Linked DNA regions of Homo sapiens: region 1 is linked to region 2. The links are contacts of gene promoters, found by promoter capture Hi-C in blood cells and fetal thymus (Javierre and others, 2016). All regions are on one chromosome and are shown on one strand. The core of a region is centred on a gene start or on the middle of the fragment in contact, and the rest is flanking DNA. Distances in the headings are between cores, read along the strand shown. Region 1 holds the start of MGST2 (microsomal glutathione S-transferase 2). Region 2 holds the start of TBC1D9 (TBC1 domain family member 9).

Region 1 (5,665 bases), core at 1,215-3,714, 1.1 Mb before region 2:
TTACAGGCGTGAGCCACCACGCCCGGCCGGAAGTTGTAGATTTTAAACCAGTTGACTAGTACAGGTGTACCCAAGAGTTTCTCAAAATAAGAGTTACCAACACCCAAAAGTTACAGTCATCAGCCAGGGCCACAATTCTCTGCTCAGCTCCTCCTGCTGTTGTTCCTCTCTTCCCGAGCCGTTCTCTGACTTTGAGAGCCTCTGCCTGTCCCCAGGCCTAATGTAGACCTCTCCTTCGAGATCTGTCATTTGGGAGGTTATTATAGTAGATGGTGATATGGGTTCAGGGCAGCTAGTTTGCAGTTTAGAATCTCTGCCATGTACTGAAGCCCAAAACTATTAAACTGAGTATACAAGAATGTTTTGGTGCTGCCCCAGCTTCTTGGCTCTACTTTCTTATCTAATCTTAGTTGTCAATGATTTCAAGAGCAAACAGCCAAGGAAGCCTGAAGACCAACAGAAACTTTGAGCAGACCTGGCTTGCAACTATTTATAAATTAATTTTGTTATTCCTTCTTTCCTGTATATGTGTAGTTCCATGAATTCTACTTTGAACTGGTTATAACATCTTACTGGTTCCCTCATGAATGAGTTACATAAAAATTTTGATATGTTTTCATTTTATGTTGTATGAAAGGCATGATTTTTGCCTCTGAAAGTATTTTTTAACATTAGGTACATTATATGCTAAGTACTTGTCTAGATACTTTATGTGTTTATTTTGCAGACACACAGAACACATTTGTATATGCCAGGTGCTGTTTTAAGTGCTCTATAAGTATTAACTAATTCAATCCTTAGAATAGGATTATGTCATTTAAACTTCTCTTCAGCTCTTATTAGCCCTATCTTATTAAATGGAGGCTCAGAGAGGCCCAAGGTTGTGTTATTAAATTGTAGGGTCTGTGTGAGGCTGAGGCAACTGCCCTCCCCAGAAGACACTGGGAGCTCCCTGCTAGGGACTAAATGTTTGTGTCCCCTCTGCAATTCATATGTTGAGACCCTAACCCCCAACGTGATGTTATCAGGCATTTGGCAGATAATTAGCTACAGGTGAGGTTATGAGCATAGGCCCCCATAATGGGATCTGTGCCCTTATAAGAAGTGACCAGGAAGCTTACTCTTTCTCTGTCTCCAACATGAAGGTGTCCTTCTGCAAACCAGGAAGAGGGCCCTCACCAGGAACTGATTGGCCAGCACTGTCATCTTGGACTTCCCAGCCTTCAGGACTGTGACGAATAAATTGCTATTGTAAGCCACCCAGTCTATGGTATCTTTGTTATAGCAGCTTGAGCCAAGATATACCCTCTAATGGTGCTGTAGGATGGGGTGAGGAAAGGCCCCCAGCTCTGGTTTTTGGGAAGCTGCATCTTTATTTTTATTATTTGTTTGAGACAGGGTCTCACTTTGTCACCCAGGCTGAAGTGCAGTGGAACGACCTTGGCTCACTGCAGTCTCAGGCTCCTGGGTTCAAGCAATCCCCTTGCCTCAGCCCCCTAAGTAGCTGGGACTACAGGCACGTGCCACCATGCCCTGCTAATTTTTGTATTTCTTTAAGAGATGGGGTTTTGCCATGTTACCCAGGCTGGTCTCGAACTCCTGAGCTCAAACCATCTGCCCATTTCAGCCTCCCAAACTGTTGGGATTACAGGCATGAGCCATCCTTCCAGGCCAGAATCTGCATCTCTAAAGAGCAGATTCTCCTGCCTCAGCCTCCTGCGTAGCTGGGACTACAGGTTCGTGCCACCATGCCCAGCTGATTTTTTGTATTTTTAGTAGAGAAGGGGTTTTACTGTGTTAGCCAGGATAGTCTTGATCTCCTGACCTCGTGATTCACCCTCCTTGGCCTCTTAAAGTGCTGGGATTACAAGTGTGAGCCATCGCGCCCGGCCGGTTTATTTTTTTAAAAATGGCTGGGCACAGTGACTTGTGGCTGTAGTTCTAGCTACTTGGGAGGCTGAGGCAGGAGGATTACTTAAGCCCAAGAGTTGGAGGCTGCAGTGAGCTATGATCGTGCCACCACACACTCCAGCCTGGGTGACAGATCAAGACCCTGTCTTAAAAAAAAAAAGTATGATTATTATCAGAGTCTCTAGGTGACAGTGAGAGGCAGCCTGGTGCAGGGGATAGGGCACAGTTGTAATCTGCTAGACTGGGTTCAAATCCTAAATCGGCCATTCAGAGCGTGAATACATTAGAACTGGCTTAAATTAGCATTTAAAATGTCAACAGGATTAAGTAAGTAGTTCCTTCTCACTTTTTCCACAGGAGGTGAGAAAGGTCTCAGCAAGGCCCTAGGAGGGAAGGGCGTGGGGATGAAAGGGATCCAGAGAGTCTGTGCATTGGCAGAGAAGATAGTGTAACTGGCACTGCGGCTGGAGGGCTGGTCCCACAGTGAGCTACAGCCCTGCCCGCTGGCCGTGGGAGAGGCTTAAAACAAACGCCGGAAGCAACTCCCAGCCCCATAAAGATCTGTGACCGGCAGCCCCAGACCTGCCTGCCTTCCTGACTTCTGTTCCAGAGCAAAGGTCATTCAGCCGCTTGAATCAGCCTTTTCCCCCCACCCGGTCCCCAACTTTGTTTACCCGATAAGGAAGGTCAGCATTCAAAGTCAAGAAGCGCCATTTATCTTCCCGTGCGCTCTACAAATAGTTCCGTGAGAAAGATGGCCGGGAACTCGATCCTGCTGGCTGCTGTCTCTATTCTCTCGGCCTGTCAGCAAAGTAAGAGGCATGGGAAGTTCGTGTGTGTGCGCGTGTGTGCGTGTGTGTGTGTGTGTGACAAGGCTTGCGGGAGAGAGAGGGAGGGAGGGAGATGGGTCCGGTGTTTTGTTTCCTACTTGCCCTTGCAGGTAGCTCTGGGTCCTCAGAGCACAGTCGCCTCAGGGTCACCCATGCCGCCTGCTACCCTCCTTCCCAGGGGCAAGCAGAGACTGAGAACATTCCAGAGATTAGTTCTCCCAACTGGAACGCTGTGGGGCCTCAGAGCTCAGCGATTCTGCATCATCTGTGATTACGACCCACAGCCCGTTCAAACGAGCGTTAGTAGCCTGCTAACCTGCAGGAAGTGGTGTGAATATTAATTACAAGTGTTCCAAAGGAAACGTGCCTGCTTCTAAACCTGGTTGTGATTTCTTGAACGTTGATGTTTTAATTAATGTGTTTTCTTAAATAAACTGCCTATGGTGGTATGATTATCAGATTGAAAAAAACTTCCTTCAGAAATATTAGCTTTAGATTAAGTAATTAGCTCTAAATTTTAAAACAGCTTCCCACTAGGATTATTCAATATCTCGACTGCCTGGTTAAATAGAGGGCTTTTACTCCATGGGAGTCACATTTGCTCAATTCATATTATCTTACCTACAATGTCAGCTGGGGAAAGGGGTCCGAGTGCAAGAGTGCAAGACTTCTTACCAAGCATGCATATTTCTTTATATTTCCAAGTATGCCTGTACCAGGAAATAGGGCCAAGCCGTAGACTGCTCAGGTTACACAAACAGCCAGAAGCAGGAAGGCCTCACAGCTGAGGATCCAGTCCAGGCCTCCGTGCATGCTCAATGTCTTGCCTAGCCAGTCTGTTTTGAGATTGTATGAAGATCTTGAACCTTCAGACTCACGTTTTGTGGTTTGATTCACACAATCTGTTGTGGAGAAGAGCAGGATATTTGTTTCTAATTAAAGAAGCACTTAGATCTGTTAAAAGGAAAACCCTAGACAAATTACATTTAACTGAGTTTAATTGAGCAAAGAACGATTCACAGTTGGGCATGGGGAACCGGAATAGGTTCAGAGAGACTCTGGGGCTGCCACGTGGTAGAAGAAGATTTATGGACAGAAAAAGGAAAGCGACTCCCAGAAAACGGAAGCATATAGTTCACGATGTACGGAGAAACCTTTAGGCTGAACTTAAAATATGTCAGAAGGCAGCTTTAGGCTAAACCTAATTTAGCAGGTCTAAGGCTCACTGTTGGTAGCATCCTGACTCACAGGTGCTACCAAACCTGCATGCGCCTTTATCCTAGGCCTGCAGGTCCACAGATGTCCCAAAGCTGACAGAGGTGCTCATCCTCCCTGTTTGCTGCTTGTGCAGGGGGCTGTGTGAACTGGGGCCAGAATGTTAGGGGGCTGGATGGAGTGGGGGTAGGGGTGGGGAGAGAGGAGAGGAGACTGGGTGAATGATGATTAATGGTGGACAGGGAATGTTTAATGACAAGGTGTTAGGGCCGGGCACGGTGGCTCACCCCTGTAATCCGAGTACTTTGGGAGGCCAAGGCAGGTGGATCACGAGGTCAAGAGATCGAGACCATCCTGGCCAACATGGTGAAACTCCGTCTCTACTTAAAATACACAAATTTGCTGGACATGGTGGCACGCTCCTGTAGTCCCAGCTACTAGGGAGGCTGAGGCAGGAGAATCGCTTGAACCTGGGAGGGGGAGGTTGCAGTGGACTGAGATCACAGCACTACACTCCAGCCTGGCAACAGAGCGAGACTCCATCTCAAAGAAAAAAAAAAGATGTTGATGAAGAGTTGAACTTTGTAAAATAATTGAAAAGCTGTATTCTGAGCCAAACATGAGGGACGAGTGGCCGGTGACACAGCCCAAGGAGATTCTAAGAACATCTGCCCAAAGGGGTCTGGCTACAGATTGGTTTTATACATTTTAGGGAGACATAAGACATCAACCAATTCATGTAAGATGTACATTAGTTTGGTCCCAAAAGGCGGGACAACTGGAAGTGGGGCATGGGCTTCCAGGTCATAGGTGGATTTAAAGATTTTCTGATTGGCAATTGATTAAAAGAGTTTATCTACAGACCTCAAATCCATAGAAGGGAGTGCCTGGGTTAAGATAAGGGGTTGTGGAGGCCAAGGTTCTTACTATGCAAATGAAGCTTCCAGGTAGCAGCGTTTGGAGAGAATAGATTGTAAATGTTTCTTATGAGACTTGAAAAGGTGCCAGACTCTGTTAATTCTCTCCTGGATCAGAGAAAAGACCTGGCAAGGGAAAGGGATTTTCTACAGAATGTAGACTTTCCCCACAAGAGACAACTTTGCAGGACCATTTCAAAATATGACAAAGAAATATATTTTAGGGTAAAATACTTCAATTTCTTTCAAGGCCTGCTATCTGTCATGTGATGCTATACTGGAGTCAGGCTGGAATTTGGTGTCTTATTTCTACAAAAAGTCTTAAGTGTTAGATTTTTTAAAGGGAAGGTGGGGTTCAAGAAAGACACAGAGAGAGAGAGAGAGAGAGGAGGGGGAGGGGGTAGAGGGGGAGAGGGAGAGAGAGAGAGGCTTTACAACAACACAGGTTTATTACAAAAACCTGTGGAGGTGGGGGACCAGCTTAATGCCAGAGCCCGCCATTGCTTACAGGCTGGGGTATGTACAGGTATGGGCAGGAGGGTTTTGGGCAGTATGGCTTGCTGCCCTGGAGGATATTGATAAGATGTTCTTATGTTCAGGTGGTTTGGCCAGGGATATTCCTTGGGCTCTGTCAGGATTTGATAGGGATATTTCTTCAGTTGGGTCTTTGCTTGGCAGGGTATGATAAAGATGTTCCTGTGTCTTGTGGTCAGGTGGCTAGGCAGGATTTCTCAGGGCCCGAACCCCCATGGAATGTTTCACTTTGACAAAGGCCTGTGAAATGGCAGGGGG
Region 2 (5,187 bases), core at 742-3,241:
ATTTGAGATCAGGAGTTCAAGACCAGCCTGGCCAACATGGTGAAACCCCATCTATTAAAAATACAAAAAAAATTAGCCGGGCGGGTTGGTGCATGCCTGTAGTCCCAGCTACTCAGGAGGCTGAGGCAGGAGAATCACTTGAACCCAGGAGAAGGAGGTTGCAGTGAGCCGAGATCACGCCACTGCACTCCAGCCTGGGCGACAAAGCAGGACTCTGTCTCAAAAAAAAAAAAAAAAAAAAAAAAAAAAAGGACAATGTGGGCTGATTCCAATATTAGATATGTAAATTACATATTAACATTTAGAGTTAGATAACTTCTACAAAATGACCTGGAAAATCCTGGTATCAGATCACTAGTAAGTATTTCCAGAATGGGGTCTGGAGCTCTGCAGATTTATCTTTTCTGGTAGAATCAAGATCCTTCAAACATACCAGTATACATTGTACCACATGACACCTGAATTTTAATCTTAAGAAAATTAGTTTATAAATATAATCATAAGTAAATACATATATCAAGAATCTTTATTTCATAGCACAGCATTTGAAAGCAACAATTTACCTATTGTGCAAACTCCAGGTGATATATGAGGTTGATATAAGCTCAACTCTGAGGAGGGTCAAAGTTCATCTCTTTTTTGCAGTCTCCTTTCTAGTGAAACCTCTACTATTTCTTCTGCTAACTTTTTCACTGTAAAAAGTATTCCAGTTCTGTTCATTCTAAATAACACAGAGATGGAGAAGGTCCAATTTCTCTAGTATGGTATGAGTTCGAGATTATTTCTAATATGGCACTACTTTGGATATGGGTCTGACTGATCTTATTATCCTGAATGATATGACATGGCTTCAGCAACAATTACAATAATACCTTGAAGGGAGGGGGTTTAGGGAAGAAGTGATTGAGCAAAAATAGTTAAAATGCAGTTATACAGCCAATTATTTTTACAACTAGAACCAGACAATTTGCTTTGCTTTATGTCTAATTAGGTGAAACAAAAAAATTCCTGTTTCCGTATTCATTCTCTTCGGTCATAACTCATATAGGAAATGACCACATCAGTTCCTTACTTATCGCTTCCCTGGAAACAAAAGAGCATTTTATACCTGATCCTGCTGTTGCCAGTAAAGAAAGTGGAGCAAAAATTAACCTTCTTCCATCCCTCTTTTCCATTTGGAAAACAATATTTTTAAGGGGGGGAGGGGAAGGGAATGATGCATTCAATATATAGGGGATAATACATTCCCTCCGCCCCAGACTCACTCTTTCCCATTCTCCTCAACATATCCACTTAAAGAGCGCTCAGTACGCTGAGGGCCCCAAGCCTGACAGAGTCAAAAAAAGAAGCATCTCTGCCCAACCTGAACATCACGACTCTCGATGCCTCGCATACAACGAGGCAGGGCGGGTCGCCCAGCCCCAGGGGACCGGGCGGCGTCTCCCGAGCCTGCAGCCCAGGCCGCGGGCGGCGCCGCAGCGCTCCCGGCTCCCCTCCTGCAGGGATCGGCCACGGTCCTTACCCGCCAGTCCGCCGCCGCCGCCTCCATCGCCGGCGTGGCCCTTCCTCCGCTGCAGGATGAAGTATGGGTTGGCCCTCTCGGTGATCCACAGCGCGTTGGCCAGCAACACCTCCTCCGGGTTCACCCACATGGTCCTGGCTGCCGCGGGCGGGCGCACAATGGGCCCGTGGGTCCAGTCCTGCACCCACCACCGCGACAGGCGCGCACTCCTGGGCACACGCGCGCCCGCCCGCCCGTCCGCTAGGTGCGGCGGCGGCGGCGGCAGGCGACTTCAGGGGGTGGCCCGCGGCGTCCGGGCCACAACAAAGCCCCAGCAGGCGGCCCGGGAGGACGGTGAGGACGCGGGCGCGGCAAGCAGCATCCTCCCCGCGGCGTCGCCGCCCCGCGAGAGCCCGCGGCCGCAGACGCCCGGCCTGGCACTCTGCAGCCCGGCTCCCGGCCCACGGCGGCGGGAGGAGCGGGAGGAGGAGGAAGAGGAGGAGGAAGGGAGCGGGAGGAGGAGGAAGTGGTATAGCTCAGTCCCGGGATCCGGCTCAGCGCCAGGCAGGGCTAAGGGCCACCCGAGCGGATTCGGCCCCGCGGTCAGGGCCAAGCTGGGCTCCGGCGCTGCTGCTCCCGCGGCGCCGACTGGAGCTCCAGAGCCCCTCCCGTCTCTACCTGCTCGAGCTCCCGAAGTCGCCGCGCCTTAACGCGCCGTGTCGGGGCCGCAGGCGCCACTAGGGAAGCCCAGCTCCCCGCTGGAAGGACGCTCCGGACACTGCGAATGAATGACGACAACGCGGCTCACTTGGAGCGGGTCCGGGTTTGTGCGGACTCGGTACCACCGCGGGCTCCGCGCGCCGAGCTGAGCAGCTGTGGCTGGCTTCGGGGGAACCTTCGGGGGAAGCTCCTGGGGACCGTGTGCCAAGCACTGGGCCCGACGCCCATCCCAGCAGGGAGGACGCCGCCAGCCTGCGTGGGTGCGTGTGTGCTGTTTGTGTTTAAGGTTGACGCTCTATGGGATAGCGCCACCCCTTTTCCCAGGAAAAGTGTTTCAAGGTTCCAGACCTGGAGCTCGGTTAGAGACCCGGGGTCGGAAGCCAACGCAGCCAATGGTCGTCGATGTTTTTGTTTCCTGCATCCCCAGGGCAAGTCATGCGCTAAACTTGTCACCGCTTGTGACCCCTCCCCCCTCTCCATTCCATTGTAATTAAAGTGGCCTAGCTAAGTGCATTACATCACTTCTTTCCTTGACCTGTAGGGCGTGAGCAATAGAGAAGTTGGAAGCGGCCCAAAAGCTTAGACCAACTAATTCACACCACAGCTGTTCCTATATCGCATTTGGGGCTTCGAAAACTGGGCATGGCAGAATTTTAAAATTTATCCACTCTTGGTAGATGGATTTTTTTTTTAATCAGTGAAACCAGAAACACACAAACCAGGGCAGCTTTATCCCTAGACAGTTTCAGTTTCCCCAAATACTTCGAGCTTCCAGTGGTGATCACAGCCCATCTGCCTACATATCTGATGACCATTTTTTTTTCCTCCCGCCCAGGAGATCTGGAGGATAGTTCAGCCAAAAAAAAAAAAAAAAAAAAAAAAAAAAAAGTTCCTCTTCCCAAATGATGGGAATTTAGCAGACTCTGCTTTGTTGTGGATGCTGGGCAATCCTAGGGACTTTTCCCTTTCCAAATGAGCAGAGATTCAAATGAAACCTTCTTGTGTGGGCTTCAAAATTGTGACTTTTGTAGCTCCGACTTGAATTGTTGAATTCCTTCAATTAGTCGAATGAGCAAATCACCAGCCATTCTAATGAGACTGCCATTTCATCTGTTCGCTTCCTACCGCTTGGGCTCTCAAGGAATGGAAGTTTCCCTTGATGTTACCACACAGACTGATCTGCTTCTTCCAGGCATCAGTGGAAACCTCATGTATTTAACACAGACTCAAAAAACTCATTTGGCACTTTTGGTCACAGTGCAGTGCCTTCAGTCACAAAATCTGCAAATAAAAAGCAAACAATAAGATTATAAGTCATACATATGCAAAAATTATATTAATATATCATGTAACTTTTATATTTTTGAAGTGTTTCCATAGGTATTCTTTTACTTGATATAATTGGTATTTTTAAAAACTCTAAGTGCCTTAATACCATGTTGGGGTTTGGAAAATGATACCACAAAGCATGGTGCTTTGGCATGCTGAGTACTTTGAACTAAAGGAGATTGAAAGGCCTCAGAAGCAGTTTCTCTCTGACCTCCTTCTGCCCTCCTGTCTCCCACCTCTCTTTCTCCCCCAAAGTGAGTCATGGAAACTAAAGGCAGGTCATAGAAACTAAAACCCCTCTTCCCAAAGGAAGCTACAAAACCTAGAAATATTACCATTCCTCACTCTTCTGTGTAAGAGCAGACATAAAGAATAGAGAAATAAAGAAATTATCTACCCTACCTTGTTGGATAGTAGGTCCCCTTTCCAAAGGAGTCCTGCTCTAAACCCAGGAGGAGGGAAAGCTATACGGAGAGGCCAAGAAGAATCTGAACAGACAGACTGGGTCTGTTCTCAGTCTATTACCATTGGATCTTACCCTTTTGTCCAACCACATCTACATGGCTGCCCACTCTTCATTGAACCTAAGCACAAAAATGGACAGAGCGAGACTCTCTCAAAAAAATAAACAGGCTGGGCATGGTGGCTCATGCCTGCAACCCCAGCATTTTGGTAGGCAGAGCCAGGAGGACCCCATCTGTATTAAACCAGAGAGACCCCATCTCTATTAAAAAAAAATAGACAGGTTTCCCTGGGTTTTTCCGTCTTCATTTCTGAAGGTTCCCATGTCACCTAAAACTTTGATTAAACAAATGTGTTGTGCTTTTCTCTTGTTAGCCTGTCTTTTGTTATAGGTGTGTTGGCTATGACCCTTATGGGAAGGAAAGATATCACACCTTTTCCCCTACAACAATCTTTTGTTTTTGTTTTGTTTGAGACAAAGTCTCGCTCTGTCACCTAGGCTGGAGTGCAGTGGCACGATCTCAGCTCACTGTAACCTTCACCTCCCAGTTCAAGTGATTCTCCCACCTCAGCCTCCTGAGTAGCTGGGACTACAGGTGTGAGCCACGACGCCCAGCTAATTGTTGTATTTTTAGGAGAGACGGGGTTTCACCACGTTGGCCAGGCTGGTCTTGAACTCCTGACCTCAAGTGATCCGCCCGCCTTGGGGCCTCCCAAAGTGCCAGAAGCCACCATGCCCGGCCTACAACAATCTTTTGGCTTGCCCTTGGCATGCTGCTTAAGGTTGTGGTTTCACACCAAAACCTATACCCTAGCCCCAAAATGTAAGTTACTTTGGCCTTTTTTATATACTGGTACCAAGTGCTATTTACTTATACAATTTATTCATTCATTCATTCATTCATTCACTTATTCAACATATAATTATTGAATGCCTACTATACTCTAGGCCTTGGAATAAAAAGTGAACAAGGCCAGGCGTGGTGGCTCAAGCCTGTAATCCTAGCACTTTCGGAGACCGAGGCAGGTGGATTGCCTGAGCTCAGGAGTTCGAGACCAGCCTGGACAACAAGGTGAAACCCCGTCTCTACTAAAATGCAAAAAATTAGCCAAACGTGGCACCATGCACCTGTAGTCTCAGCTACTCTGGAGGCTGAGGCAGGAGAATTGCTAGA

The links. Contacts are between HindIII fragments. The CHiCAGO score rates a contact against its expected background, and 5 or more counts as called.
Region 1: a contact is called between the fragment with the promoter of MGST2 here and the fragment with the promoter of TBC1D9 in region 2, in 5 of 17 cell types (M0 macrophages, M2 macrophages, monocytes and 2 more). The highest score is 21.8, in M0 macrophages.

What each region holds. Positions count from the first base shown.
Region 1 is chr4:139,663,355-139,669,019 of GRCh38, forward strand. MGST2 (microsomal glutathione S-transferase 2) reads left to right here and starts at 2,465. Exons shown (of 5, transcript NM_002413.5): 1 at 2,465-2,723. The coding sequence starts at 2,666. RefSeq lists enhancers at 2,024-3,223, 2,520-2,689. The HindIII fragment of the contact is 3,780 bases long and covers 1,115-4,894 here.
Region 2 is chr4:140,754,394-140,759,580 of GRCh38, forward strand. TBC1D9 (TBC1 domain family member 9) reads right to left here and starts at 1,992. Exons shown (of 21, transcript NM_015130.3): 1 at 1,523-1,992. The coding sequence starts at 1,652. RefSeq lists a silencer at 1,345-2,034 and enhancers at 1,690-2,332, 2,333-2,974, 2,465-2,514. The HindIII fragment of the contact is 6,603 bases long and covers 1-2,797 here.